7 separate regions of the Homo sapiens genome follow, and all the other regions are linked to region 2. The links are contacts of gene promoters, found by promoter capture Hi-C in blood cells and fetal thymus (Javierre and others, 2016). All regions are on one chromosome and are shown on one strand. Each heading gives the region's core, a stretch centred on a gene start or on the middle of the fragment in contact. The rest is flanking DNA. Distances are from core to core; before and after follow the strand shown.

Evidence for each region. The method cuts DNA at HindIII sites, captures the fragments that hold promoters and counts their contacts. A CHiCAGO score of 5 or more calls a contact.
Region 1: a contact is called between a fragment that was not itself captured here and the fragment with the promoter of CLDND1 in region 2, in 1 of 17 cell types (total B cells). The highest score is 7.5, in total B cells.
Region 3: a contact is called between a fragment that was not itself captured here and the fragment with the promoter of CLDND1 in region 2, in 4 of 17 cell types (non-activated CD4 T cells, naive B cells, total B cells and 1 more). The highest score is 8.0, in non-activated CD4 T cells.
Region 4: a contact is called between a fragment that was not itself captured here and the fragment with the promoter of CLDND1 in region 2, in 5 of 17 cell types (fetal thymus, naive CD8 T cells, non-activated CD4 T cells and 2 more). The highest score is 7.5, in fetal thymus.
Region 5: a fragment that was not itself captured here is called in contact with the fragment with the promoter of CLDND1 in region 2 in 1 of 17 cell types (fetal thymus); the score reaches 5.1 in fetal thymus.
Region 6: a contact is called between a fragment that was not itself captured here and the fragment with the promoter of CLDND1 in region 2, in 1 of 17 cell types (total B cells). The highest score is 12.2, in total B cells.
Region 7: a contact is called between a fragment that was not itself captured here and the fragment with the promoter of CLDND1 in region 2, in 3 of 17 cell types (total B cells, fetal thymus and total CD4 T cells). The highest score is 9.0, in total B cells.

Annotation. Positions count from the first base shown.
Region 1 is chr3:100,047,031-100,050,424 of GRCh38, reverse strand. The region is part of intron 1 of CMSS1 (cms1 ribosomal small subunit homolog); the gene reads right to left. The region is part of intron 1 of FILIP1L (filamin A interacting protein 1 like); the gene reads left to right. Among named protein-coding and RNA genes, the nearest start is that of FILIP1L, 66 kb to the left of the region's middle. RefSeq lists an enhancer at 2,577-2,666. The HindIII fragment of the contact is 2,629 bases long and covers 387-3,015 here.
Region 2 is chr3:98,521,504-98,524,780 of GRCh38, reverse strand. CLDND1 (claudin domain containing 1) reads left to right here and starts at 1,879. Exons shown (of 5, transcript NM_001040181.2): 1 at 1,879-1,932. CLDND1-AS1 (CLDND1 antisense RNA 1) reads right to left here and starts at 2,211. Exons shown (of 2, transcript NR_198998.1): 1 at 1,948-2,211. RefSeq lists an enhancer at 301-430 and silencers at 1,633-2,272, 2,323-2,432. The HindIII fragment of the contact is 2,905 bases long and covers 1-2,696 here.
Region 3 is chr3:100,404,381-100,407,714 of GRCh38, reverse strand. All of the region lies in intron 1 of LNP1 (leukemia NUP98 fusion partner 1), which reads right to left. Among named protein-coding and RNA genes, the nearest start is that of LNP1, 4.5 kb to the right of the region's middle. The HindIII fragment of the contact is 5,109 bases long and covers 1-3,334 here.
Region 4 is chr3:100,253,379-100,256,398 of GRCh38, reverse strand. No RefSeq gene overlaps it. Among named protein-coding and RNA genes, the nearest start is that of TBC1D23, 6.1 kb to the left of the region's middle. The HindIII fragment of the contact is 4,896 bases long and covers 1-3,020 here.
Region 5 is chr3:100,272,221-100,275,391 of GRCh38, reverse strand. The region is part of intron 1 of TBC1D23 (TBC1 domain family member 23); the gene reads right to left. Among named protein-coding and RNA genes, the nearest start is that of TBC1D23, 13 kb to the right of the region's middle. The HindIII fragment of the contact is 7,791 bases long and covers 1-3,171 here.
Region 6 is chr3:100,336,977-100,340,397 of GRCh38, reverse strand. It overlaps NIT2 (nitrilase family member 2), which reads right to left. Exons shown (of 10, transcript NM_020202.5): 2 at 1,193-1,311; 3 at 463-583. Among named protein-coding and RNA genes, the nearest start is that of NIT2, 3.9 kb to the right of the region's middle. The HindIII fragment of the contact is 1,707 bases long and covers 508-2,214 here.
Region 7 is chr3:99,872,466-99,875,486 of GRCh38, reverse strand. The region is part of intron 1 of CMSS1 (cms1 ribosomal small subunit homolog); the gene reads right to left. The region is part of intron 4 of FILIP1L (filamin A interacting protein 1 like); the gene reads left to right. The region is part of intron 1 of LOC105374010 (a long non-coding RNA gene); the gene reads right to left. Among named protein-coding and RNA genes, the nearest start is that of HP09053, 50 kb to the right of the region's middle. The HindIII fragment of the contact is 2,943 bases long and covers 1-2,886 here.

The DNA of each region.
Region 1 (3,394 bases), core at 452-2,951, 1.5 Mb before region 2:
CATTAAAACATTTTATAATCAATTTTAAGAGATTTAAAATTTTCATACTGAGCATTTCACATAAATCTAAAAAAGATATGGCTTTCTCTGATATTGCCCAAACTCCCTCTCTGTGTAAGTTCCTGACTCATTAGAGGGCACATTTAAAAATCACTCAGAGTTATAAGGGAGGTTAATACAGCACCACAGTGTCATATTTTTAAGAAGGATTCTTCTTTTTATTTATTGATCTATGAAACTGATCTACCAGAAATGCTGGTAAATAAACAAATTTTAAAAATTTGCCCCCGAACACTACCCCATGATGCCCTTAATAGATTCATTCCACAGGTGAGTCTGTGTGATTAAAAAAGCATGTTCCTTTTCACTTAGGCCACTAGGAAGCTTAGAGCTAAATAGTGATTAACTTCTAATAACCGTAAAGAACCACACAGTATATGGTCCTTTGAACAACTCAGAAGTTAGGGTCACTGACCCTCTGTGCAGTTGAAAATCGCATATAACTTTTGACTCCCCCCAAACTTAACTACTAGTAGCTTACTGTTGACCAGAAGCCTTATTGATAAAATAAAAAGTCAATTAACAAGTATTTTGTATGTTGTATATATATTATAAACAGTAGTCTTACAATAAAGTGAGCTAGAGAAAAGAAAATGTTAGAAGACAATCATAAGGAAGAGAAAGTACATTTACTATTTGTTAAGAAAATATATTTACTATTCATTATTCTTCAAGTAGGCTGAGAAGGAGGAGGAAGAAGGGTTGCTCTTGCTGTCTCAGGAATGGCAGAAGTCGACAGAGTTCAAAACCATGTTGTTCAAGGGTCAACTTATTTCTGTTTCTCACTATTATCTCTGGCTTTATATTCTAATCACTTTTATTCCCTCAATGAATTATTTTAATTTTCTGTACTGCATATGTTTTGGAAGTGAGGTATAAATAGATCAATCAATAAAAAGAAGACTCCCTCTTAAAAATATGACACTCTAGTGCCATATTAACCTCCCTTATAATGCTGAGTGATTTTTTAAAAAGCTCTCCCCAAATTAATCCTTCATCGACTTTGGTAAGTTCGGTAAGACCCTAGGGTTTCATAACAAGCTAGAAGAGCAATAGTCTAACCTCTAATCTTTGTTGAGTATGCTCAAACCTCAAAAACAGATGATAAATGAAACAAGAGAACAGTTTATTTGTTACCATGATTTATTGCCACGTTTCTATAATGTAGAGAAGATATGTGTTCCCAAAGGTATAACTTCAAATAGTAAGGAGAGAAGGTAAAAGAAAAAACAAGGAAAGAGAACTGTTTGCAATTGTCAGACACAAATTTCTACAGTTTTTTTCCAGTTAAATTCAGACATCGACTTTGTTTCTGGCATAAAAATTTTATGCCCTTTTGTTTGCTATACTCTTTTATTCATATAAGATGTAATCCATTAGGTTTGAAAATAGACAATTGTGTGTGTGGTAACTTTAATTCCATGACACAAACAAAAGTGCTTTTCCATAACTGTCCAAGTCCATATTTAAGCAATCAGTCTAGGCCATCATATCAACCTTATATAATTCTGCACAACAGATTTTTTTTTAAAGAGTAAAATACAATTTTAGAAGCAGAAAGAAAATGTCCTAGGAGAAAAACCTAGGGCTAGTTAGGAAAATCTGGAATCCCAGTCTTTGTCCATGTACAGGGGCTGAGAAACATAAAACCCACCTGGACTTGATTGCTTCCTTTAGTGAGATGTTAACAGAGTGGAAATGATTCCTGATTTGGCTTTTATTTTCCCTCTCTAAATGGCAGTCCAAAAAAGTGGTGCAAGAATCACCTGGCACCTCAATTACCATGCTCAGTTTCTCCCCTGACACTGTGTGGTGGGTTGTGTCACAATAACTTTGCACCCACAGATATGGCTTCAGGGTGGGCTCTGACTGAGATGGAGTGAGCTCCGTGTCACAGCTTGCCTCGGTTAGCCACAGCTGCAGGGAAGAGCTGGCTCTACTCTTCCTCCTCTTTCCCCAACTCACCCCAAGCAAATGCTTCAAGCAGCTGCCATACTTGAGGGCTGGCAGTGCCGAAGGCTCTGAAGGTCTGGAAAGGGGAGAAATGAGGGGCCTCTGGGACTAAAGCATAACCAAATTAAGGGATAAACAAGTGAGTTAACTTTAAGTCTATTGCTAGTTTTCCTAGTAAAATAAAGACAGTGGAAGGATTTGGTCTGGACCTATCTGTCCCCTTCCCTGAGGGCTGTTCAGCAGAGCTTGGGACCTGGTCATTTGTGGGGCAAACAGGGCCAGAATGCAGGAAGACAATGCAAGCACAAGTGGACTTGGATTGTGGCTGTTTGGCCCCTATATGCCAGCTTGCCTGGGACAGTCCCTTACTACTAATTTAAACCCTTTCACTTTCACAAGCTATGGCCCAGTGTTTCTTAGGAGGGTATATTTACACTATAGGAGGGACAATTCGTTCTTTCATGAGTCTGCTCAACTCACCATAGAAAATTTGCCTACTAAGTGCCAGAAGCTACCTCCATCCTATCATTTTTCGCCCACCCTGTCATTTTGACAACCAAAAATGCCTTCCTTTTTTTTTTCAAATGCCTTCTGGGGAGAGCAGTGAGGCCCAGACGCACAGCCACTGAATGCCCTGTCAGTTAAAAGAGGAAGCAGAGGCTAAGAGAGGTGAAATGATTTGATTGAGGCTATAGCTAGACAGTGGCAGGGGCATTGTTTCTTGACTTCACATACAGTGAGGCTTCCAGAAGGACAAAACTCTACTGTCTCTTGACAGACACCTGCAGTTGAATCACTGTTTGCGGAGGCATAAACTGCAGGGAAAGAATTTACATGTGGTAATACCAGTGTTTTATTTGTGGCCACTTAATCATTCGCAGTCAGTAGCTTTATGACCCTCGCTGGTTTCAGAGGTTATGAATAATAATGGTATTCTTTAAGGAGGACATGATACTTTAGTTTTTTTAAACACATAGAATTTGGAGTTAAGTCATAAAAGCTTTCCAGAAAGGAAGAGGAGAGTTGTCATTAATTTTTAAATGCATGAAGCTTAAAGAGGGATTTACAATAATAGCATCAATAAATATGCTTTGGAAGCACCTTTTCTTCAAGGAATTCAAAACCTTTTTTTCTTCTAAAAATGTTTAAAGATATATTGTTCTCAAAAGAAGAAAATAACAACACTTCCCTCCGATAGTTTTTACTAGTTTCACTTCCTTAAAAGCATTTAATCCTGAAAATAACCCTAGAAAGGTAGGCAGAGAAAGTATTATACCCATTTTACCAACAAGGAAATTTAGGTTAGAAAACTTCAATGGCTAAACATTTAGCAGTTTTGGACCTTCAAAACCTGAGGACAATACCCTTTACATTTTATCTT
Region 2 (3,277 bases), core at 630-3,129:
TATATTCAAGTGTGTTACCATGGTAGTCAGTTACTCTAATATCCAAGTTTGCTACCAAGTCAGTTACTCTCTCTAGTTCCTTTATCTGTAGACTGAAGTTGTTTCTTCTCTCTCCTTTAAACTTCTCTTTTGCCTGGTTTACTGACCACATGATCTCAGTGGAGAGGTAAATCTGAAAGTGGGGAATTTCTTTTTTTGAGGCAGAGTCTTGTTCTGTCGCCCAGGCTGGAGTGCAGTGGCGTGATCTTGGCTCACTGCAAGCTCCGCCTCCCGGGTTCATGCCATTCTCCTGCCTCAGCCTCCCAAGTAGCTGGGACCACAAGCGCCTACCAACACGCCTGGCTAATTTTTTTGTATTTTTAGTAGAGACGGGGTTTCACCGTGTTAGCCAGGATGGTCTCGATCTCCCGACCTCGTGATCTGCCGCCTCGGCCTCCCAAAGTGCTGGGATTACAGGCGTGAGCCACCATGCCCGGCGGAAAATAGGGGATTTCTAATGAAGGCCAATGGATGAAGACATTTCCTGGAGTATAAGGGCATTTATGTGTCTTACTACACATTGACAATTTGCCTGTGCCTCTCCATCACTTTCTCTAGTTGGTGCCTCTGACAAATTTTTTTTTGATTATATGCTGTATATGAAAATCCAGAGTCATGTTTGAATATATTTGGCTACTACCTTATTATGTGCTGCATATGAATATCAGTTTCACCCACTCAGGTCAAAGAAATGTAAGTACAGATAGAGAAACATATCATGCCTTTAATCTGTCAAAGTGGTAGAAATTTAATATCAACTTGCAGCTCCCATCTTTCTCCTATGCTAAATTACAAGGCATTAGGGGACAGAGTGGGGGTTTGAGAGCCCCTCTGGTCCTTGAGTCAGCTTTCTCTGTCGGTTACTGTTGAGAAATCCACCATTTGCTGGTCCCAGGCCACGTTAATAGTTCCACTCATGTTATTGTTAAGATGTCCCTGCTTCCTGTCCATGAATTTCTGTGTTAAACCTGAGGGTTCAGAATCATTGTTGCCCCTGTGCCACACATCATCTGCAATCTCCAATGCTGTCCATGACCTTATCTGCTTGAGTGATGTTCCCCAAATTTCAGTCTTTTTCCTACTATACCCACAATTTTTTATTCATTTTTTGACATATCTGGTATCCTCAGTATTATTAACTTAATAGTTTTTAAAATAAGTGAAAAGAATTTAAAAGGAACAACATTGCTGCAATAGAAAACTAGTATCACTTGTCATAAAAAGAAGGCAGCTACAAACACATTTTATGAAACCCAAATAATATCATTACATTCTTGATGGATACTGTCTGCCAGGTCACATACTTCTTAGCCTAAACTTATGCAATAAAACCAGAAGGATGCTCTGCTCCAATGGGAGGGATTCTGGGAGAGGGAAATAAAATGGGTCAACGTTTCACAAGTAGAATCCCATTTTTGTTCATTTATACTTAGATCTAGAGGCAGGGTGGTGTGATAGGGAAAGCACAGGCCTAAAAGTCAGATCTAAGTTATACAAGTCACGGTCATTGACTCGAGATGACCGGAAACAGGCCCGCTTTACTTTCTGGACCATTCTCCCTTCCTCCCTAAAATGCAAGAATCCAACAGCCTAGACTTCCCTTCTGCGTACCGGCTTGCCCTGAGGAGCTGAACTACATCTCCCACAATGCGCCGCGCGCGGCGCCAGGAATGCCTATCGCCGCCTCAGACAGCTTTCAGTCTGTCCCTCCTACAACTCCCACAAGGCCCCTCGGCCCCGGGCCGCGGCCCGGCCCGGAGTGGGGGCGGGCGGAGGCGCGGGAGTTATGGAGGGGGCGGGCTCTGCAGGGAAGTGCGTCAGAGGAGGCGCGGGGAGAGTAGGGTGCTGTGGTCTGAGCTAGAGGGTGAAGCTGGCGGAGCAGGAGGATGGGCGGTGAGTGAGCGGGACCTGCGTCGCCGGGCAGGGGTCGCGTCGCGGTTCCATGTTCCCGGCGGTTTGAAGAGGGGCCCCCTTCCCGGGCGTGGTCGGGCTGGGCGGGTTCCGAGCGGCGGATTTGTCCCAGGGCCGAGCCCTCTAGGGCGGGGCCTGGTCGGGTACCGGGGGACCCTGGCCCGGGGCCGAGCACGGCTGCCCCGCCCCAGCCCTGGCCTTCTCCGGCCCCGCCGTGAGGCCCAGGAGGTGGCTGCTGCAGGCGTCCGGCTTGGACGAACCGCCGTTCCCAGTGCTGGGACCCTTTAAGGTCATTTGAGAGCACCAGGATGAAGGGGGGATTTTTAAAAAATCAAAATACAAATCCAACTTTTTGAGTTTTCGTTGTCATTGCTCTTATCTTTCCTGAGTCACTTCCCATTTTCCAAACTCAGCAACCCCAGTTTGCGAGTCTGTTTTCATGAACCTTTGTAAGGTGTTTGGTGCGGTCACGGTGTATACTTGCCGTGTAGTATTTGACTCAGCGCGATCTGCCTTGAGTCATTTTACCGCGGCCATTTACTACTGCCGTTGAGCCCTGTCCACGCCTTGGGAGTGTTGATATGTTGAGAGTTTTCTGTCTGGCTGAGGAGGGATCATTTAGTTTTTGCGGACGTATGTTGCACTGAGGATTTAGGGAGAGAGCAAGATTTCTGTTGAGGAGGTTCAGAAGTATAAGGAATCGGGAGAGTAGATAGGAGTGAAGCATTTGGCAGCGTAAAGAAGCTTGGCTTAGCTTTAATGGATTAGGGAGAGATTGCTATCTAGCATTATTACATGTTATTGTTCTCTTTGCTATTTTATACACCTAGAACAACCTTTCCCTCGGGGTTAACAAACATCTTCAACTCTGTTTTCTGTATGGCTCCTGACTCTTACCTTTGTTTTAGGAGGCTTCCCTCTTCAGAGGAAACTGGGAGAAGCCAATTTCCACTGCTTCTTTTTCCTGTGCCTTTTTAACACTCAAACCCAGAACACTTAATCCTCTGCAGCTCGTGCAAAAATTCAGTCTGTAATTTAAAATGTGTGCACGGTACACTGCTGACCATGGGCATGTCTATTGTTTGTATCTGTAATGTGTATGTCCATTTCAGTGTTGTCTGTTTTAGTATGCAGGTGATAGACTAGAGAACAAGACCTCTGTCTCCGTAGCATCCTGGGTATGTGAGCATTCAATAAGTACTTTTATGAGAATGAGTTTTGTTTTAAGCTTAATTAAAAACATGCTTGCTTTCTAAAAAAAATTCTTAATGGTTATATGTACGAAGGGATGGGGAATTGGGTAAAGGGTGCATTTGGAATAATTCAA
Region 3 (3,334 bases), core at 524-3,023, 1.9 Mb before region 2:
ATTCAAGAGGGAGTAGAGAAAGATAAGGGTGTAAAAGGCTTATTTAAAGCAGTAATAGCAGAAAACTTCCCAAACCTGGAGAAATATATAAATAGCCAGGTACAGGAAGGTCAAAGATTTGCAATTAGATTCAATCCAAATAAGACTATCACAAGACATATTATAATCAAACTCTACAGATCTAAGACAAAGACAGGATCCTAAAAGCAGCAAGACAAAAAAAGCAAGTAACATATACGGCAGTTCCAATATGCCTAGCAGCAGATTTCTCAACAGAAATCTTACAGGCCAGGGAAGAGTGGTATGATATAGTCAAAGTGCTAAAGGAAAAAAAAGACTGTCAATCAAGAATACTGTACTCAGCAAAACTGTCATTCAGAAATGAACATGAGATAAAGACTTTCCTAGTCACACAAAATCTGAGGGAGTTCATCACCACCAGACCTGTCTTACAAGAAATGCTAAAGGGTGTTCTTCAAGCTGAAAGGACACTAATGATAAACACAGAAACATCTGAAAGTATAAAACTCCCTGGCAAAAATACGTACATAGCTAAATTTAATTTATAATACTCTGATACTGTAATGGTAGCATTTAAATACTGTAATGAGGGTGTGTAAATCACGTATCTTTAGTAGGGCTAAAAGATAAAAGTATTAAAATTAATAACTACAGCAACTTGTTGATGGATATGCAATATAAAAATACTTAAATTGTGAAATTGAAAGCACAAAATATTGAGGAAAGGAAGTGGAGTTAAAGTGTAGTTTGCATGTGTATGTGTAAATAATCAAAGTTAACTTGTTATCAGTCTAAAATAACCTGTAATATCTATGTTTTTTGAAGCAAAAACCGACAATAGATACACTAAAAATAAAAATCAGCCAGGCGAAGTGGCTCATGCCTGTAATCCCAGCACTTTGGGAGGCTGAGGCAGGCGGATCATGAGGCCAGGAGTTTAAGACCAGCCTGGCCAACATGGCAAAACCCCGTCTCTACTAAAAATACAAAAATTAGCCAGGCATGGTGGCGGGCACCTGTAATTCCAGCTACTTGGGAGGCTGAGGCAGGAGAATCGCTTGAACCCGGGAGGCGGAGGTTGCAGTGAGCCGAGATCATGCCATTGCACTCCAGCCTGGGCAACAAGAGCAAGACTCCATCTCAAAAAATAAAAATAAAAAAATAAAAATCAAGCAATCAAAAACACCACCACAGACACATTTATAATGTTTAAACAAGTATCTGGGTATCCCATGGCCCAGTCAAATTGACACATGAAATTACCCATCACACCACCTATATTCTGGGCTCTGGCTGTACAAAATGAACAGTTTCTGTCCTCGTGGGGCTTACATCCTATTGAGGGGATCACACTATTTTTTTATTTTTCCCACAGACAAGTGTACACCTGAGAGGTTTTTTTTTTCTTGAGGCGGCATCTCACTCTGTCACCCAGGCTGGAGTATAATAGGGTAATCTCGGCTCACTGCAACCTCCGCCTCTGGGGTTCAAGCGATTCTCCTGCCTCAGCCTCCTGAGTAGCTGGGATTACAGGCATGTGCCACCATGCCCGGCTAATTTTTGTATTTTTAGTAGAGACAGGGTTTCACCATGTTGGTCAGCCTGATCTTGAACTCCTGACCTCAGGTGATCCACCCGCTTCGGCCTCCCAAAGTGTTGGGATTACAGGCACAAGCCACTGCACCCGGCCCACATAGGTAATTTCTAATAGTGCTAGGTGCTAATATCGTAGACCAAAGAAAGAGAAGAGGTGTATGAAGGGAGGCATGGGTGGGCAGAAATGTTGAACTTTATAGTGAAAGTGAAGAGGATTTAAAAGTCTTTCAGCTCAAGAGTGAAATTACAGTTATGCTATAGGAAGAGTAAATTGATATCAAGGTGCAGGGTGACACATAGAAGAGAGGCACTAGAGGCAGAGAAATTATCTGGGAAGCAAGCAAATATAGGATTTAGGCAAGATGAAGGAAATGAATAAAAGAGAAAAAAGAGGGGAATGTAATAGTATTAGGAGTTGAGGCCTTTGGGAAGTGATTAGATCATGAGGATGGAGCCCTTAAAAATAGGATGAGTGCCCCTATAAAAATGAGACTCCAGAGAACTTTCTTGCCCCTTTCCACTATTTGAGGACACAAACCAAATTTGCAGTCCTCAACCCAGAATAGGGCTCTTACAGAATTTGACCATGCTGGCACACTGATCTCAAACCCCCATCCTCAGGAATTGTGAGAAATAAATTTCTATAGTTTATTAGCTAAGTAGTTTTATGATATTTTTGTTATAGCAGCCTGTACTAAGATGGGAAGAAACTATTTATTGAGTATCTGTTATGTGTTATACATACTCTTAGGAGTTTTCACTTATATGAACTAAGAAGTGTCAGAATGGGTGAAAAAACTATAAGAAAGATATTACAACAAAGTTGAATTTGTTGAAGACTTCACAGCTGATTTTGTGTTTATGTGTGTATATAAATACAACAGCATAATCATTTGTGCTTGGGTAGGTAAGGATGAAAAAGAGAGAGGTCTAAAAAGGTCTATGGTTTCAAATATGAGTAACTGCTAAGGTAATAGTGGTATTATTAGAAAAAATGGATAACACAGGCTGGGTACAGTAGCTCATGCCTGTAATCCCAGCACTTTGAGAGGCCGAGGCGGGCGGATCACGAGGTCAGAAGATCGAGACCATCCTGGCTAACACGGTGAAACCCCGTCTCTACTAAAAATACAAAAAATTATCCAGGTGTGGTGGCGGGCGCCAGTAGTCCCAGCTACTCGGGAGGCTGAGACAAGAGAATCGCTTGAACCCAGGAGGCAGAGGTTGCAGTAAGCCGAGATCACACCACTGCACTCCAGCCTGGGCAACAGAGCGAAATTCCATCTTGGAAAAAAAAAAAAAAAAAGGATAACACAAAGAGAAAGAATGAGTGGGGAAAATGATGAGTTATATTTTTGACAAAAGTCAGGAATCCAAGCAAAACTGCTCAGTAAGTAGTAAGAAATATAGGGCTAGAGGTAAAAAGGGAAGCTATGCCAAAAGATATATAGACAGTGATTATCTGCACAGAAATGGTACCTGAAGCAATGAGATTTACTTTGGTTACTAATGGAGAGATTGAAGATAAAGAAGAAGACATATTCTAATAAATTCCTCACTTGAGGAATATCTAGAGCTGTGCTGTCCAATATGGTAGTCATTAGCCACATGATACTACTTAAATCAATTAAATAATGAAAACTGTAGTCTTTGTCACACTACATTTCAAGTGCTCAATAGCCACATGTGGCTAGTGGCTACCATATTGGACATCATA
Region 4 (3,020 bases), core at 488-2,987, 1.7 Mb before region 2:
ATATGTTATTTACAAGCTGATTTCTCTAATACCCAAGCTAAATTGTACAGCTTGTCATTGTCATTTTCACATCTCAAATTTACATAAGGAAAATACAAAAGTAAACAAAAAGAATTCTTAGGATATCATGAACATAAAAGTGACTACAGATACAAAAGCATCCAAAAGTTTGGATAAATAATTTATTCTCTATAATTTTGCTCACACTTTTTTTCTGGACAATAATAAATTCTCTGTTGTTAATTCTCACTTATAATCTGGTAACTCCTGTATCTCCATTTCCAACCCATTATTACTATAACAATAATGTTGCCATAAAAAACATTATTATTTTAAAAAGTATTAATATTTTCAAAGCATTTATTATTTTAAAAAGTATTAATATTTTCAAAGCATTCTGTGATAATCTGTCAGCAGAGAGAAAGCCCATTTGTCTTCAGCCTATTTGGTATGTACATGGTATGGTGGTACATGGTATGTATGTATATGAAAGCAAATGGACAAGGCCCTCCTGGACATTCCAGTCCCTTTCCACACCATGTTCTTCTTTCCCTTATACTGGTCTCCTCTGTGTTCTTTGAATAAGCCATACTCTTTCCCAACATGTGGCCTTTGCTGTCTCTTCTGTCTTGAAAGATCACCCAGCCCTGCACACCTTTGGGCCCCAACATATGTACACATAGCATCTAGTTACCTCCTACTCTTACTTCAGTGCTCAGCTCAGTTGTCTCTTCCTCAGAGAATGACAGCAAAGCCTTTTGGAATATAGCCGGTCCCTTTATCATATGTGTCTGTAGATACATAATATGTGAGTTGAATGGAGGAATCAAGAAGTTAAAAATGGGAAAGGAGAAGGAAAGCAGAGAGTAATGTAGACTTGAATAGTGTTCAGGTTTTAAAACATTTCTTCTTGATCTACATGGACATGTCTACCGGCTTCTCCTACTTTTAAGTTTACTTGTGGTTCTTTGTAAATGTTTCTTATGTGAGGCTATAAAGAATCCTAAAATCATGAATAGATTGTGAACTCCTTCATTCTCATCATACCACCTCACATTGGACAAGTTTCAGCAATCATTTATTGAGCACTTGAGTACAGACCAAGTTCTGTTCCAGGATTTAGAGGGAATGGTCTTATCTACCTCCCACCTTTCCTACATTTATCTCTTCTTTCTCTTTCTTAGCACAAGCTCAGCCCAGCACTATGTTTTTCAATCCTCTTAGCATTGGAATAATCCAAGGAACTTAAAAACATACACACATAAAACGATGTGGGAACGTCACCCCCGGGAATTCTGATTCTGCTGGTCTAGGGTCAGACACAAGCACAGGTGAGTTTTAAAAGTTTCTTAGGCAGTGCTAATGTGCAGGCAGCATTGAGGACCACTGGCCTAGACTAATCTTGAAATAGAAACTCGAACTGGAGAACTGCAGAACATCTGACTTCTGGAAATCAAAACTTGAGTGGTTCCAATGATACTTTTATTACAACTGATCTCTAAGATGGTGTCAGACCTGCAGAAGGTGCTAAAAAGGCTATAACTGATGCATTGCCCCTGAATTAAGGTTGATGACTTTGGACCTTGGTTGTAGGAAATAATGTGATTACTTGTACACCTGTTTCAGGGGCAGTCACTCACGGTGGAGGAAAGCAGACTAAATGCCTATGGGCACTTTTACCAACTTTTAGGTTCTGTTCTCTGACACTCATGTGTCTCAAAGACTTGAAACAAATACTATTTTATGAGTTTAATGCCTGGGTAACCTGAGGCCCTGAAAGGTTTAGGCTTTATTTTCTGGCACAGTGCAGTAGGCAGGACTCCCGACTCCCAAACTCCAGAGATTATCTCCAGTTGAGGGAACCATGAAGCAAGACGCCTGATTCCTAGCCTTAGCTCAGCCACTAGCCAGGTAGATGTGTGGCCCTGTTTAAGTTATCTCTGATATCGGGGCCTCAGTTTCCTCAGATGAGGTAAATTGAGCTAGATGGTCTATCCGGGCCCCCTTCAGCTTTAACAAGTGTCACTAGGTGGCACTCATGTAACTCCAGTGGGGAGCCATTGGAGCAAGTTGGCTGCCAAGCTCCTTATGTCCCTTAAACGACCCTGGGATCTGTCAGGGGCAGCTTAGAAAATAATGCAATTTTAGGAAGACTGTTTAGGAGTCTTTTTACCAAGAATAGCTTTTGAATCTGCGGACACCTGTTGTATTTTACCAGCTGCTTTCAAGTATTATGTACTTCTGGTTTTATATTCCTATCCTTTTACCATCTCAAATTTTAAAATATTGTATAGAAAACTATTTCTGTGGCTTAGCTACATTTGTAACATTGTCCAGACATACTGGTTTGTGTGACATAAACACATGAGGTATTCTTTTAGCAAGTACTGAAGTCTGCCAGCCATATGCCACTGCATCAGTAACTTTTAAGAGGAGAAAGATTCACTATCCCAATACTGGACTTCAAGCAAATGGGATTCTGCCCTGGGATGTGTCCCCACTGGATAGAGTCAGTCAGATATGGTTCTTGTTTAAAGACTTGCTCCCCAAACCTGGTTTGTCCTGGTGTCTGACATTGCTAGGGAGGTTTATTCTCACTCAGATTCATTTCAGAAATTCAGTTCTGCTCAATGTGGCTTCCGAATTCAACTCACAGGTAGGGGAATTGGGAGCCTCCATGATCCAATACTCAAGGATGGCCCTGTCTTCCGTTGTCAAAAGTCATCCAATTCACATGTCAGGTGCTTTTCCTTCAAGCAAGGGCCACAGGAGTTGCTCCTAAGGATTTATTAACAAAAATAAACATGGAAGAACTAAATTTGGGGCCTAATCCTGTAAGATCCAAGAAGAGATTTAAGAAGTTTCATATTGCCAATTCATTTTGGGAGTAAGAGGTGGACTTTTAATAAAGACTGCCTTCATTACCTGTCAATATAGGAGCCTTCGAGTTGCATACATTTCCTGGGTTGAATTATAATTACGACTTTCAGACCTAGGGGCATGGTGTGGTGTTAAGGTTA
Region 5 (3,171 bases), core at 481-2,980, 1.8 Mb before region 2:
CAATTGAGCTCAGGAGGCAGAGGCTGCAGTAAGGCCAAGATCATACCACTGCACTCCAGCCTGGGCTACAGAACGAGACCCTGTCTCAAAAAACAGGCTACAGAACAAGACCTTGTCTCAAAAAGCAAACAAACAAAAAAAAAACACAAAATAATAAAACCAAACCAAAGAACCTGTCACACTCATGAGGATGACTACTACTTTCAAAAAACATAGGTTGACAAAGATGTGAACCCTTGTGTACAGTTAGTGGAAATGCAAAATGACGCAGCCACTATGGAAAACGGTATGACAGTTCCACAAAGAATTAAAAATACATGTCTCATACAATTCAGCAATTCCATATCCTGAAATGTCTGAAAGAATTGAAGGCAGAGTCTGAAAGAGACTTTTGTATACACATGTTCACAGCAGCATTATCCACAGTAGCCCAAAGGTGAATGCAACCCAAGTGTCCGTTCACTGAGGGATGAATGAATAAACAAAAAGGGGGGGGGTGTGTACTGTATGCATAGATATATGTAATTAATAAACAAATATTATATATTTATCATATTATATATGTTTATTAATTTATATATGTAATTAATAAGTTAATTACATATTATAGAATATATATTATATATAATATATAATGGACTATTATACAGCCTAAAAAGGGAGGAAATTCTGACACATGCTACGACATAGATGAACCTTGACAACATTACGGTAAGTGAAATAAATCCGTCCCAAAAAGACAAATACTATACAATGCCACTTATGTGAGGTACCTAGAGTAGTAAATTTAGAGAGCGGTTACCAGGGCAGAGGGAGGGGAGAATGAGGAGCTCTTTAACAGATACAAAGTTTCAGTTCTGCAAGATGAAAAGCATTCTAGAGATTATATGCACAACAATGTAAATGTACTCAATACTAATGTACACTGAAAAATGGTCAAGATGGTAAACTTTTTACATTATGTATATTTTACCACAATTTAAAAAAATCAACTCTATTTAACGTATTATAAAAATTCATAAATTTGAGCTTTAGTGTCAGACCTGGGTTTCAATTTTGGCCCTTCAACAGCCATGTGACCTTACAAAAGGAAAAAGCACCACAATGCTTATCTTATAGGGTCAGTTAATGCTTAAATAAGTTTCTGAACACAAAAAATTCAGGGCAATGCTTGGCTACATAATTCCTTAATAAACAGAATCCATGAATACTATTTCTTTTGTTATTGTTACTGAACAACAGCTTACTTTCTTAAAATGAATTTTTAATCATAATCATTTTAAAGAATTTTGCCAATGCATTAAAAAAATTAAAAACCAACCACAATTCCATTACCATGAGATAATCACTTTTTGTGAATCACTTTTCAGTTTCTCATGTGTGTATTTATAGACATATATATAGACATATATTTACATATAGACATCTATATTTATAATAAACTCAATCATACTGAAAATACAATTTTGAATAGTATTCCCTGGGTTTTATTATGGGGTTTTCATAGTTTTTAGGCTTCCATCTTGAGTTGATTTTTGTATATAGTGTAAAGAAGGGATCCAGTTTCAATTTTCTGCATATGGCTATCCAGTTATCCCAGCACCATTTATTAGATAGGGAATCCTTTCCCCATTACTTATGTCAGGTTTATTGAAGATCAGACAGTTGTAGGTGTGCAGTCTTATTTCTGGGTCCTCTGTTCTGTTCCACTGGTCTATGTGTCTGTTCTTGTACCAGTATCCTGCTGTTTTGGTTACTTTAGCCCTGTAGTGTAGTTTGAAGTCAGGTAGCGTGATGCCTTCAGTTTTGTTCTTTTTGCTTAGGATTGCCTAGGCTATTTGGGCTCTTTTTTGGTTCCATACGAATTTTAAAATAGTTTTCTCTAGTTTTGTGAAGAATGTCAATGGTAGTGTAACGAGAATAGCACTGAATCTACAAATTGCTTTTGTGGGGAAAAGAAAGAGAGATCAGATTGTTACTGTGTCTGTGTAGAAAGAAGTAGACATAGGAGACTCCATTTTGTTCTGTACTAAGAAAAATTCTTCTGCCTTGAGATGCTGTTAATCTATAACCTTACCCCCAAGACATGTGCTGTGTCAACTCAGGGTTAAATGGATTAAGGGCTGTGCAAGATGTGCTTTGTTAAACAGATGCTTGAAGGCAGCATGCTCGTTAACAGTCATCACCACTCCCTAATCTCAAGTACCCAGGGACACAAACACTGCGGAAGGCTGCAGGGACCTCTGCCTAGGAAAGCCAGGTATTGTCCAAGGTTTCTCCCCATGTGATAGTCTGAAATATGGCCTCGTGGGCAGGGAAAGACCTGACCGTCCCCTAGCCCGACACCCGTAAAGGGTCTGTGCTGAGGAGGATTAGTACAAGAGGAAGGCATGCCTCTTTGCAGTTGAGACAAGAGGAAGGCATCTGTCTCCTGCCCGTCCCTGGGCAATGGAATGTCTCGGTATAAAACCGATTGTATGTTCCATCTACTGAGATAGGGGAAAACCGCCTTAGGGCTGGAGGTGGGACATGTGGGCAACAATACTGCTCTGTAAGGCATTGAGATGTTTATGTGTATGCATATCTAAAGCACAGCACTTAATTCTTTACCTTGTCTATGATGCAGAGACCTTTGTTCACGTGTTTATCTGCTGACCTTCTCTCCACTATTATCCTATGACCCTGCCACATCCCCCTCTCTGAGAAACACCCAAAAATGATCAATAAATACTAAGGGAACTCAGAGGCTGGCGGGATCCTCCATATGCTGAACGCTGGTTCCCTGGGTCCCCTTATTTTTTTCTCTATACTTTGTCTCTGTGTCTTTTTCTTTTCCAAGTCTCTCGTTCCACCTAACGAGAAACACCCACAGGTGTGGAGGGGCAACCCACCCCTTCAGCTTTGGGCAGTATGGCCATTTTAACAATATTAATTCTTCCTATCCATGAGGATGGAATGTTTTTCCATTTGTTTGTGTCATCTCTGGAGGCCATTATCACTAGCAAACTAAAGGAGGAACAGAAAACGAAATACTGCATGTTCTCAAACATATTACTTCTCTAGCGTATTAAGTAACTGCTACTTAAGAAAGGATACTTTACAGAATCATTAAGTAGGAAACAATGTGGCACATGTACTACTTTATCTGTCTCATTTTAGTTCTCCAATACT
Region 6 (3,421 bases), core at 112-2,611, 1.8 Mb before region 2:
TTCTCAATCCTCTATTAGTATAGTAAAAAACAGTCCTGGCATGATGGCTCACACCTGTAATCCTAGCACTTTGGAAGGCCAAGGTGGGCAGACTGCTTGAGCCTAGGAGTTCAAAACCAGCCTGGGCAACAAGGTGAAACTCTGTCTTTACAAAAAAATACAAAAATCAGCCAGGCATGGTGGCGCACACCTGCAGTCCTAGCTACTCAGGAGGTGGGAGAATCACTTGAGCCTCGTAGGGTGAGGCTGCAGTGGGCCATGATCACACCACTGTACTCTAGCACGGGTGACAAAGCAAGACCTCACCTCAAAAAAAATAAATAAATAAGAAAAAGAAACTCTCTGCTTCAGCTTCCCAAGCTGAAGCTTCCCAAGTAGGGAATACAGGCGCACGCCACCACACCTGACTCATTCAGATGTTTCTAATGTTTAGGTCATTATACCTTGTGGGTAGGAAGTTACCTCCAATGAGATATATGCTGCATTCCTTTGCTACTTCAGAAAGCTTCTGTGTGGATTCACCAGGAATTTTCTCTGCATATTCAGGAAAATATTTCGCTCCATATGGAGAATTAAAGCATTCCTAGAAAAATATTGGCAGAGAAAAAAAAAGATCAAAACACCCACCCATTTTAAAGTTCTGCTGTAAGAGGCCATAGCTGCTGCTTCTAGCTCTGCTTTCAGTCGAAGGGTTAAAACACAGCTAATAAGAAAAACACTGACATCTCAAGGGTAAAGAGCCTGTAGCCACAGGTAAGACTACAAAGCTAGCCTAGTGGGTTGGAGGAGACAAATCACAGGTGTTCTCCCAGAGCTCATTTAAAAAAAAAATGTTGGAGGCTTAGTGCTAAAACCAATATGTTCTGGTTCTATAAAGACTTAGTTAAATAAGGAACAAAGTATCCAAGCACTGAGTATTTTAGTTTTCCGTAAGTCCCTCAATATACTAGGATTTTGGCTTCCTCATCTGAACAAAGAGGAAGATCCAAAACCTAAAGACCTATGACCGTGTTGGCACATCCTATCTCACAAAGAACCTTGCTAAGGTCATCCTCCAGTCAGACTCGGAACAATCTATGGGCTCCAAGGGACACTGCTGGACCCCAGGATACAAGAGGACAACCAGAGCTAGCAAACACCGTTCTGCTTGGGTGTACAGTGGCTAGAACAGAATGGCTGCTCCCATACTGACCGGCAAAGAAACTATTTTGGCTCCTTGCGTTGCTGCCTCCCGGATGAAGCTACAAGCGCGAGTGACGTTATCTGATTTGATGGAAGAAATCTGAAGCTGGATGAGGGCCAAGCGGAAAGCTGAGAACAAAGACAAAAGAAAACAGCTATCAGAAGATCGAACTGCTGGATTCAGACAGAGCCATAGTTCTCAAATGGAAGGCAGTTATGTCCCCGGGGGGACATCTGACAATGTCTGAAGATACCTTTGATGCCACAACTGATGAGGTATGAGTGGCATCTAATGAATAGAGACCAAGGATACTGCCAAACATCCTACAATGCATAGGACAACCCCCTCCATAACACAACGAAGAATTATCCTGTCCAAAATGTCAATAGTCTAAAATCTATCTGGAGATAGAGCAATATCCATGGGCAAAGTCCCATGCCAGGCACAAGAATCTAGAGTGAACCAGCTTCTTACTACGCAGTGTAGGGAATGAAATGAGAATATGGCTTAAAGTAAAAAGACTGGGTTTGAATATGGTCCTGTCCCTTACTGTTTGTTCATGGGCCTCTCGTCTACCTCCAATCCATATACTGAGTATGTCCCAGCACAGAAAGTGTGATTCCTTGGAAGCTGCTCACATAATTCCCATGAGCAGCCCAGCTCATGGGAAGGGAAGATGTCTGTCTCAGTTTCCCCACTACTGGCTGGGTCACAGCACATCGATCCCGCTGCTGGCAGAGGGAAAACCTGGCAGCCAGTGAGCTGCACACATGCCTATTCACAGGACAGGGGTCCCAGGCACCTCTAAAAGTCTGCACTTACCCCATAAGTATTCATGTGTCCAAGAGAACATGATATTAAACAGCAAATAACACCATGAGAGGTTGAAAGAGATACTGCAGAAGGAAAAGCTAACAGCACTTTTCTCTTGCTATCTGAACAAGGGAACTGGGCCCCACAAATTATGTAGCCAGCCCTGACAAGGTCTGTGCTCAGCCCTGGAGCAAGGAGGTTGGGGGCTCTTCCAAGCTTATTTCTTCCTGGAGGTAGTAGCTATACATCATATTTGCTTTTCTTCTGTTCTTTAAAGTTCCCTTTTAGCTTTTATGATAATCACTTTCCATTAGCTAATATTTTTTATTTTGAGGCAGGGCCTTGTTCTGTCGCCTAGGCTGGAGTGCAGTGGCACAAACATGGTCCACTGCAGCCTTGACCTACTCAGTTCAGGCAATCCTCTTGTCTCAGCCTCTTATGTAGCTGGGACCACAGGTATGCACCACCATGCCGGGCTAATTTTTTAATTATGTAATTTTTTGTAGAGACAGGGTCTCACTTTGTTGCCCAGGCTGGTCTCGAACTCCTGGGCTCAAGCGATCCTCCTGCCTCAGCCTCTCAAACTGCTGCGATTATAAGCATGAGCCACCACGCCTGGCCAGATAATAATTTTTTATATAAAATTTTCCGCCGGGTGTGATGGCTCACGCCTGTAATCCCAGCACTTTGGGAGGCCAAGGCAGGTGATCACCTGAGGTCAGGAGTTTCAGACCAGCCTGGCCAACGTGGTGAAACCCCGTCTCTACTAAAAATACAAAAATTAGCCAGGTGTGGTGGTGGGCACCTGTAATCCCAGCTACTCAGGAGGCTGAGGCAGGAGAATCAGTTGAACCTGGGAGTTGGAGGTTACAGTGAGCCAAGATCGCGCCACTGCACTCCAGCCTGGACGACAGAGTGAGACTCAGTCTCCAAAAAAATAAATAAATAAATAAATAATTTTCCTTGTTCGAGTTACTAGTGTTGTTTCCATGTCCTGTCTGGACCCTGATGGATACATAGTTCCTGCTTATGGTCTGGTGGGACGCAGCAGTAAAGGATCCAAAGCACATTATAATCTATGAAGCTCTGCAAAACTTCAGGAATTATTAGTGTAGGGAAAAGAAAGAGCGATCAGATTATTACTGTGTCTGTGTAGAAAGAAGTAGACATAGGAGACTCCATTTTGTTCTGTACTACGAAAAATTCTTCTGCCTTGAGATGCTGTTAAACTATAACCTTACTCCCAACCCCGAGCTCTCTGAAACATGTGCTGTGTCCACTCAGGGTTAAATGGATTAAGGGCTGTGCAAGATGTGCTTTGTTACAGATGCATGAAGGCAGCATGCTCCTTAAGAGTCATCACCACTCCCTAATCTCAAGTACCCAGGGACACAAACACTGCGGAAGGCCGCAGGGACCTCTGCC
Region 7 (3,021 bases), core at 166-2,665, 1.4 Mb before region 2:
AAGTAACTATCATAGTTTTGAGTTCTAACTTTCTGCTTCAAGTCCAGGCATTGGAAAAATGACAAACCTCACTTACAGCTATCATTTCTAGAGTAATATTTTGGATAGTAGTATATTATGTAAAAAATGCCAATTTAAAAGGTAAAACTTATAGAGTAACTGTATTAATCAGTAACATTTTAAACCATAATTAGTTACATCTAAATCCTGAAGAGGCTATTGCTACCAATGAACTCTTACAGTATGATAACTGAACACTTGGCAGAAAAATCTCCATAATATTTTACTTCATTTTTTCCAACTAAAAGTCAACGTAGGAATTAAAAATAAAAAGGTTATGTCAACTTTAGAACACTGGAATAGGAGATGAAAAATTGATTCATCATTCAATCCTTATCTGGTCTAAACATATATTGTAAAATAAAACTTTAACAACTATGTGACAGAATTGTCCCTTTTAAAACAGTCTCTATGTTTTATAAGTATATACAATTCAAACTCAGAATTCATAGGCTGCCATTTATATTTACTCTGAGATTTTAAAATGCTGGCATTTTAGTTGGCACTAAAATGACCATATAAGATAACTGTTTGGAGGTACAGTAAAAGTTTAACAGAGGAGCAGAGCACTATAACCACTGAGGTGTATGTGTGTGTTACAAACTCATGTTTTTATATTTAATTGTCAGAAGAAAATGTCAGATCCCAGATTTTATCATTGAAACACAGCATTTAAAAAATACTCAAAATGTGGGTTATATCTGTATATTTCTAATAATTTCTGTTGGATGGTTTTTAAAAGTATATGACATTGGTGCCTATCATTTTTGCCTCATAGCAGTTTTTTTGTTTTTGCTAATTTTGTTTGGAGCAATGCACGACTTTGGTTTTCATATTTTAAAAGAAAAATTATATGTTATTTGGCCTGAGGATAGGCTATATAAACTGCAGGTTAGTACTGAGAAGTAGGATTTTCCACAAACTATTATTTCAAACCTAGGGAAGCCCACCATAATGAGAAGAGCGGGGCCAACACCCATGTCACTGTGGAGAAGTACAGAATATGCAATGGAAGAGTTGTTTATCTGATATAAGCGGTAATTGGAAACTGAAAAATTCCTGCTCTGGAAAAAAGATATTCTGCTCTTCTGAATCTAACAGAGGAAGAGACAAACAGAAACCATCAATTATTGTTTCAGGTATACCCAGAGTACCATCTGTACCATAAACTACAACTCAACTGTTGAAAATCATAACTTCCATCAAAATTCTAACAGCTGTGTTTCCCAGTGTCTTTTATTTTTTTAAAGCAGGCAAGCATCGATTTTTTAAAATTTAAAAATAACACTCTTTAATATTCCACACTTTTTCCCATTTATTAACTTTAAAGCATGGTTCAAAGAACAATCACATAAGACCTCTTTTAAAACTGAAAGCTAAGTATGACTTATCATGGATACCCTATCTCACACTGGGCTCTTTGGATGAGCAATTTCTTAGTCCTTGGGACAATCTGTATGATGGGAAAATGTTTTTGATAGAATGAATGTGAATTTCTACACTTCCAAATAAAGCACATAATAATTTTATGCTTAGTAAGTTCATTTGCACTTTTGTGGTGATTAACCTTAACTGTTAAGCCCTGGTATTTTTGTGCTATTTTCCTAATGCTGTGATGGAGACTATAGTAACAGCCAGTATGAAAACACAAATCAAGCCTTGACTTAATTTTCCGGTTCTCTTGCAGTTCCCATTAATTTGCCTTCTCAAAAGGCTGTAAATTTTGTTTAAGGGTTCTCTGCTGTAATTTCCCCTCCAAAAAAGTGCCTTTGGTAATAAATGGATTTTGAGATTTAAGAAAAAAAACTGAAAATGTAGGAGGAAGAATAAGATTCCAATAATTCTGCTTAGGTCATGTTCTGTCCATGTCTAGTGCTTCAGGGCAAAGTGAACATTTTACAAGGTGAATAGAAAAAAAACATACAGCCCCTCCTATTTAAAGGAAAAAGGAAGAGGGGCAAGAAGAGAACTGTTTATAAAAGACTGGATATTGTGGATGTAAGGCAATATTGGTCTCAACCTGCTTCAGGAACTGAAATGGCCCCATCTGTTGTTCACAGAGCCTGTCATCTTTGAAAAATCTAATACACCCTACCTTATCTGTTGGACATATTAATTTTAAACGATTTTAAGGTCCATTTAATTTGTATTTGACCATGAATTCAGCTTCAATTTAAACTGATTGTTTAGTTTTTGTAAATTATATTTAAATAAGGATTTAAAGATGAAGAGACACTGCATATGCAGCCAGCATCACAAACCTTCAAAGCAATATTTCTGTGGTTGCTGCTGTCATCACCACAACATTTTCTAGCCACCAACCCAGTCACTTATGCTTAAAGTGTGCTGCAATGACTTTTAGAACCTCCTATGGCTGGTCATTTTCTACTTAAAATGAGGTAGGACATTCATGTTTTGAGTCATTTTGTTAGGTACACTAATTCCTAGCAGATTATCACCAACACTTATCAGCCTTTGCACATCCCTCCTTTTTTTAAAAAAAAAAAAAGACTTGAGATTCTCCTTGACCTTCATCTGCACTAACATCGTCTCTGCCTGGGAAAGCTGGGCAAACAAAAATGGGAAGGCTTACCAAGGAAAGTCCCTGGTTTCTTTTTCAGATATGAGAAACACTCCCTCTTCATGCTTGTTCTCTGAGATGCTTTAGCAGATTAAGATAGGACAGCAGCAGTTTTAATTCTGAGCCCAAGAACGAGAACACATTAGCAGTATTCTTTTTCCAGTCTGACCGTCCTCACATTTCTATGCTCTACTGGCTCCAAAATATGATAAATTGTTAAGTATAGAATTTTTTTTAAACAAGCTTGGGGAATGATGTGTTTGTGGGGGCAGGCAGGGGAGCAGTAGGGAGGTAAGTAGAGGAGTAGATAGGTAAGTGTATGATTGGGACAGACAGGATGCAGACATACCTCAACTCCTTGTGTCTGTTTATGATAACTA